Linked DNA regions of Homo sapiens: region 1 is linked to region 2. Evidence: promoter capture Hi-C in human tissues and cell types (Jung and others, 2019). All regions are on one chromosome and are shown on one strand. Each heading gives the region's core, a stretch centred on a gene start or on the middle of the fragment in contact. The rest is flanking DNA. Distances are from core to core; before and after follow the strand shown. Region 1 overlaps NALCN (sodium leak channel, non-selective). Region 2 holds the start of CLYBL (citramalyl-CoA lyase).

The links. Contacts are between HindIII fragments. The study calls those that stand out against the background at their distance.
Region 1: a fragment that was not itself captured here is called in contact with the fragment with the promoter of CLYBL in region 2 in 1 of the 25 tissues and cell types used here (dorsolateral prefrontal cortex).

The regions. Positions count from the first base shown.
Region 1 is chr13:101,128,835-101,132,299 of GRCh38, forward strand. The region is part of intron 17 of NALCN (sodium leak channel, non-selective); the gene reads right to left. Among named protein-coding and RNA genes, the nearest start is that of LINC00411, 190 kb to the left of the region's middle. The HindIII fragment of the contact is 3,814 bases long and covers 96-3,465 here.
Region 2 is chr13:99,604,981-99,608,492 of GRCh38, forward strand. It overlaps CLYBL (citramalyl-CoA lyase), which reads left to right and starts at 1,710. Exons shown (of 9, transcript NM_206808.5): 1 at 1,710-1,777. The coding sequence starts at 1,716. It overlaps LOC105370332 (a long non-coding RNA gene), which reads right to left and starts at 869. Exons shown (of 3, transcript XR_931674.3): 1 at 782-869. RefSeq lists enhancers at 573-1,552, 1,475-1,769 and a silencer at 1,491-2,050. The HindIII fragment of the contact is 17,148 bases long and covers 1-3,512 here.

The DNA.
Region 1 (3,465 bases), core at 753-3,252, 1.5 Mb after region 2:
TTGTAGGAGTAAGCCACCGCACCCAGCCAAGAGAGAGTCTGGATTTTGCTGAAAGCACACTCTTGGTACAGTTCAACACGTTCTTCTGTCTTCTATTTTCTGAAAATCGGCAGCTGGATCCAGAGGTTTCATCATACAGACTCTGGTTTCATCCCTTTGGCAAGGCCATAGGTGGTGTCAGATTCTTCCATCGAAAGGAACAGAGTGTGTGTGTTTCTTTTTGTGATGTTACGGGTCTTGATGTTCATTTCTTAGATCCCTTGACTTCATTCCGTTTGCAAAACTGTCATTTCTTTTTCATTTATTAGTTGGGATAGTTTTATAATGAGGTGCTTTCCCTCCTGTATTATTTGGTTACCCAGTAGCAAAACTGGTATGGAAAAGCCAAGATAAATGCTTGATTATCGACTTTTACTTATTAATTTTACATGGTTGATTTTCTATCATCGCTCAAGGTAACCAATTACTATTTAAAAAATGTCATTATGAACTCAAGATTTAAACTTATTTAATGTTTAATGGATTTCAGTCCATGTCAATTACCATTTCTTACTGTTAGTCAAATTATCTCTACTGTGCTCATTGGGAGTTTTTCAAGTTGGTCAGTCTGTAGGTTCTTTTTATATGACCCTCGTAGTCTTTGACAAAGCTTCCTTGTTCCTAGTATGACAAGATGCTCCAAGGTCAGCTTGTACACTTCCTATTCAAAATCAACCATTTTCTTCAAGAAGCCCTGGTTTACTTATTGGAAAATTGGAAAAATGGTGTTTCAAGAACATATCTAGAGCCCATAGATGCTCACTGCTATGGAGTTGGTCACTGTTTCAAATATTTTGCCTGGGTTTATTCTGATGTTTTCAATTTAAATTCATGACCCAGGATTTTTTTTTTTTTTTTTTAGTTATACTTTAAGTTCTGGGGTACATGAGCAGAACGTGCAGGTTTGTTACGTAGGTATGCATGTCCCACAGTGGTTGGCTGCACCCATCAACCCGTCATCTACATTAGGTATTTCTCCTAATGCTATCCCTCCCCTTGCCCCCCACCCCGATAGCACCCAGTGTGTGATGTTCCCCTCCCTGTGCCCATATGTTCTCATTGTTCAATTCCTACTTATGACTGAGAACATGCTGTGTTTGGTTTTCTGTTCCTGTGTTAGTTTGCTGAGAATGATGGTTTCCAGCTTCATCCGTGTCCCTGCAAAGGACATGAGCTCATTCTTTTATATGGCTGCATAGTATTCCATGGTGTATACGTGCCACGTTTTCTTTAGGATTTTTATTTTTACCTAAGCTTTTCTATATGATATCTATATCTCCTTTTTTCTCCACAAAGAGCACTCTTGATTATCAAGAGCACCAGGGATGCCAGAATTAGATTGTCTCAACAGTGACTCAGTTTTATTTCACATTTCATAGACAATAGTCTCAGAATGAAAATACACAACCAAGAAAACTACTGAATATCTTAAGGGTTTGCATATCTTCTTCCCGTTCACCTCCTCATTTGTATATCTGTACTCTATCCATATTAGAACAAATAATTATTACATATTTCACTCTTCATGTTGTCCTTATGTAGTTAGTTGTTACATATGAATGTGAATTTTTATGCCAAATGGTTTAAGAGTCCCTTTTGGAGTTCATTTAGGTTATCTGAGGCATGTTTTTTAGTAGATTACAGGTTCATTGAAACAAGATTACTTGTATCTTACATTACTCATATTCTTAGATCTTGAAAGCAGTTTCTCTGACCTTGAAAGTTGAAAGTCAGTTTTCAGGATGGAAAAAAATCTGGCTCAGATATTCTTTGCCTGGGCATCCTATATATGTTACTCTATTTTCTTCTGACATAAAGCATTGCTGCTGAAAAATCTCATGATAATCTAACGTTCTTTCCTTTATAAATCACTTGTTCTTATTTGGGCTAGATAATATATTTTTAAAAAATTTAAAGACCTGTCATTTGTCTGGTGTATGTATTGTTTTTAATCATTTACTCCAATATTTTTAGGTGTGTGCTGTCAATATATAGTTTCATATCTTTTTATGTTTCAGAAAAGTTTAGTATACGTTTTATTCTCTTGCTGTGGTTTTTCTTCCTTAGGGACACCTATAATGCAGATGTCGGATTTTTGACTTTCTTCAATTTGTCATTTTTCTTGCAAATCATTTTCATCTCTTTCTTCATTTCTCTTTGATTTTAAAAAATGCCCTCTTCTCCATTTTCTATTTCTCACTTTTGAATCATCTGAGGTCTCTTTATGTTCCTTCTCGTTTAGTTTTCATTGCTTTAATTTATAACTTTTCTCAGTTCTGGCACCTCATTTCTGAGTTTTTCTAACTTTTATTTATGTTGCTATTTCATCCTTATGTAATTTTTAATGTCTTTTAACTAATTTTTCAATAGTATGCTACAGTTTGAGCTGGTTAGAGCACGTTTTTGTAGGTTGCTTTCCTTGTCTACAGTGAGAGACAGTATTCTGCTGTTTTTTTCTTATAATAACGTTTGCAGGGAATTTGGCTTTGATAATTTTCCTTACTCATTTTTATACAAAATTAGTTTTCCCAAACAGTTTAGTATTTCTCTTCTAACTTCAGAGTTTCCTCTTCTGTTGTTTTAATATATCGATCAAATATGGTAGCTTTCTTTCTGGAATTTCCAAGCTCTGTTTCCCAATCCTCCTCCCCCCACAAATTTTGTCTGGATCTGCTTTTATCCTTATCACTCTTGTTCCTGGCCTGTTCAATTTTGATTCCACTCCTGGACTTTTTATTTCAGAATGGAGCAAAGAAGATGTTCTACCATTCCATGAACATTGGACGCTCTGTAACTAAGCTTGGTTTCCTCCCACAGACACTAATATCATGCAAATCATGTGGCTGTTTGTCAACACTTGCTTTTATTTAGGGTTTGTGGATTACCGAGTTTTATGGTAAATATTAACTATGGATTTGGGGTTTTGATATCTTGGTATTCTTTTTGTTTTCATGTGGGAATTCAAGGTTAAAAAACAATGTCAATGCCTCTGTCATCTTTATAGAAGAAGGCTCCTTAATTTTTTCTTGTTGAATTTTAAAGTAGATTTATCAATTTTATTACTGCTTCCAAAGAACAAAATTTCAATTATGTTGATATTATTTATCACCTCTTTCCCCCCATTTGATTAATAACTGCTTTTCTCTTTATTATTTCTTTCTTTCTGCTATCTTAGTGTTTCCTTGGTTGATAATTTTTCTAAATTCTTGAAATGAATGCTTGGAGGATTAATTTAAGCCTTTATTTCTTTACTAGATATTCATTCAGGGCTAAATTTTTTCCTCTAAAAATGCCATTAGCTACTTCCCACAAGTTTGATGCATCTTTTGTTCATTATTTTTTAATTGTAGATATTTTCTTATTTTCATTGGTGTTTCTTCTGTGCTTATTTGAAAATAGTTTTAAATTTCTGAATGTGTAGGTTTT
Region 2 (3,512 bases), core at 460-2,959:
AAGGATGATGATGTCCAGAATCAGACTTGAGTGAGGTGAGTGCAGCCCCAGCCTGGGATGCAAAATTTAAGGAGAAGTCTCAGTAATTACTGCACTCCAGCCTGGGCGACAGAGCGAGACTCCATCTCAGAAAAAAAAAAAAAAAAAAAGATAAGTAATATTGGCCTGGCATGGTGGCTCATGCCTGTAAGCCCAGCACTTTGGGAGGCTGACGCGGATGGATCACTTGAGGCCACGAGTTCGAGACCAGCCTAGCCAACATGGTGAAACCCTATCTCTACTAAAAATACAAAACAATTAGTTGGAAGTGGTGGCACTTGCCTGTAGTCCCAGCTACTCAGGAGGCTGAGGGGTGAGAATCACTCAAGCCTAGGAGGTGGAGGTTACAGTGTGTGAGCTGAGATCGTGCCACTGCACTACAGCCTGGGCGACAGAGCAAGACTGTCTCAAAAAAAAAAAAAAAGTAATATTCTAAACTAAAAACCAAGATAATGGAAAAATCCCATTATGAACAAAATATCAAAATTTTAATTAAAGACAGGATTGGTGTTACTGAAATTGCCTTTGCCTCAGGCTTCAGTATGGCTGGACCGGGCACTGGCTGGGACTAAGGTGGTGACAAGAAAGTGACCAAATTGGAGTAGACAGGCGAGGCCTGAGGTGGAGCAGGCGTGGGAGCTGGGGGAGGGCACCAAGGGGTTGAGCAGTCTCCCCTGTTGGTATCGAATATAACAATAATTCTTAGGCTCAGCAGAAGTTTAGCATCCATGTTCCCAGTCACCTGGACTTTTCCAAATCTTGGAACCCCCTCTGGCTGAAAAGGCTTTTGTTTGTTTAAACGGCCACTTTTTGCATCCAAGAGCACAAGTCAGCTTCCACTGGAAGGTTCTGAGAAACGGTTTCAGGTTTAAGTCTAGAGCATGAATGGAACGGAGTCACAGCTGAAAAAGAAACATGCCGAGTGCCAAGGAAAAGACATGGTTAAGGGGTAACATGGGCCCGGGTAGGTGAAGGTCGGCAGGTGGAGGCCGGCTGGATCAGGGAAGGTGAAAGAAGAGGCAGGGGCAGGGCCCAGCCTGTTTTAACGCCTCGGCGTTCTCACCGCTGCAGAACGGCTGCAGGGGGCAGAGTAAAGAGCTGCTGTCAGTTTCCCTGCCCAGAGAGTGCCAACAGCTGCTCTGACCTATTGCAGGCATGTGTGTTCCAGGATGCAGCCTTCCTGCACTTTGACCACTCTAGATTAATTGCTAACCAAGATATGCACATGATGGGGCTCACAAAGTATTAGGCGGTATTTTAACAACAAAAGCTGCGAAGAAATCCCTAGAAATGTTGGCTCTTCTGGCTGGGAAAACGCAGTCTGTCAACAGTTGCCTCAAAAACTCAGAAGCTCAGAGAGTTGGATTCGGTCACCAGAGAGGCCCCTCAAAGAGGCCCCAACCATTCAGATCCTCTGCTCTGTCCCCCATGACAGCGGGGACGAAGGTCCTAAGCCCTGGCCGGGAGGGCAGTTGACCTCGGGACTCGCCGCGGGGCGGAGCGGGTGCTGGGAGGAAGGAGGGCGTGGCTGGCGGGGTGTGGCTGGCGGGACGGGGCGGGGCGAAGACAGAGCGAGGCGGGGCCTGGGACGGGGGGGGGGTCGGTGTCGCCGTGGGGGCGTGGAATGTGGGGTGGGCGTGGCTAAAGGCAAAGGGCGGGGCGCGCGCGTCGGGAAGATGGCGCTACGTCTGCTGCGGAGGGCGGCGCGCGGAGCTGCGGCGGCGGCGCTGCTGAGGCTGTGAGTGCAGGTCCCCGTTCCCCGCCTTCCCGGCCCGGCTCGCCGCGGGTCGGCTCCTGTTGCAGCCCCGCGGGCCGGGCGCGGCCTCCCCAAGCCCTCACGGGAACCCAGCCGGACGGAAGCACCATGCGCCTCCCACGCGCTGGCTCGACCTCGTCCAAGGTCGCTGCCGCCCGCGCCTCCCTTTGGGAGGGCCCTCGTTGCACCCGGAAAATGGGTACACACCTTAGGTCGAATTACCTGGACTCAGCCCCAGGAAACAAAACTGCCTGCCTCCCCCAAATGGCAAACGTGAACGCGCCAGTCTTTGAGAGGCGGCTTGCCTGGTGAAGAACACCTGCGGTTCGTTTAACACAGCGGTTCCCAAACGGTTTGGTCTCAGGACCCGTTTACACGTCTAAAAATAATTTGAGGACCCCCCAAAGCTTTTGCTTATATCTATTGATTTTTGTGCATGAGGAATTAAACCAGAAATTTAAAAAATATTCACTTAATAACAAACCCATTAACTTTTAATACAAATAACACTTTAATGCATAACTTCTCAAAAAAAAAGTGAGAAGATTGGCTCATGGTTTTTATATTTTTGAAAATTTCTTTGGTTTAATAAAGGACAGCTGGAGTCTCATATCAGCTGTTTTGAAGGAAATATTTGAAAGAAATTCTGGGCTCATGCAGATGCAGATATTAGTTGGGAAAGGGAGGACCAAGCAGACCCTCTCAACGGGTCTCAGGGACCCCCTCAGGTGTCTTTGGACCACACTTTGAGAACCGCTGGTCTAGCACTTGCCCATCGCCTAGGTACGTGCACATACATGGTCTCATTTGGTTCCCTTGACCACCATGTGAAGAAGTTGGGTGTCATGTTTATAAAGATGAAAAAACAGGGTCAGAAAGGTTAAGGATTCTCAAAGCCCTATGACCAGTAATGAGAGAGTTTGGTTCAAACACTAAGTGTATGGCTCCTGGTCTGGAACTTCTTTATTTATTTATTTTTATTTTTTGAGACAGAGTCTCGGTCTGTCACCTAGGCTGTAGTACAGTGGTGTAATCTCGGCTTACTGCAACCTCCACCTCCTGGGTTCAAGCGATTCTCATGCCTCAGCCTCCTGAGTGGCTGGCATTACAGGTGTGCACCACCACCCCTGGCTAATTTTTGTATTTTTAGTAGAGACAGAGTTTCGCCATGTTGGCCAGGCTGTTCTCGAACTCCTGACCTCAAGGGGGTCCACCCGGATCAGCCTCCCAAAGTGCTGGGATTACAGGCGTGAGCCACCATGGCCGGCCTGGTGGTCTGGAACTTCTTTTTTTTTTTTTTTTTTTTTTTTTCCGAGATGGAGTTTCGCTTTTGTCGCCCAGGCTGGAGTGCAATGGCGCCATCTCAGCTGACTGCAACCTCCGCCTCCCGGATTCAAGTGATTCTCCTGCCGCAGCCTCCGGAGTAGTTGGGATTACAGGGCGTCCGCCACCATGCCCGGCTAATTTTTGTATTTTTAATAGAGACGAGGTTTCACCATGTTGGCCAGGCTGGTCTGGAGCTCCTGACCTCGGGTGATCCACCTGCCTCGGCCTCCCAAAGTGTTGGGATTAAAGGCGTGAGCCACCGTGCCCGGCCTGGGTCTGAACTTCTTACGTCTTCTTGCACTGTGACTCTTCAGTCACCCATGTCCTATGGGAGGACCCACCTAGTCTTATGCATCCCACTTTCCCATTTCCTCCGCTGCCCCTGGCACAG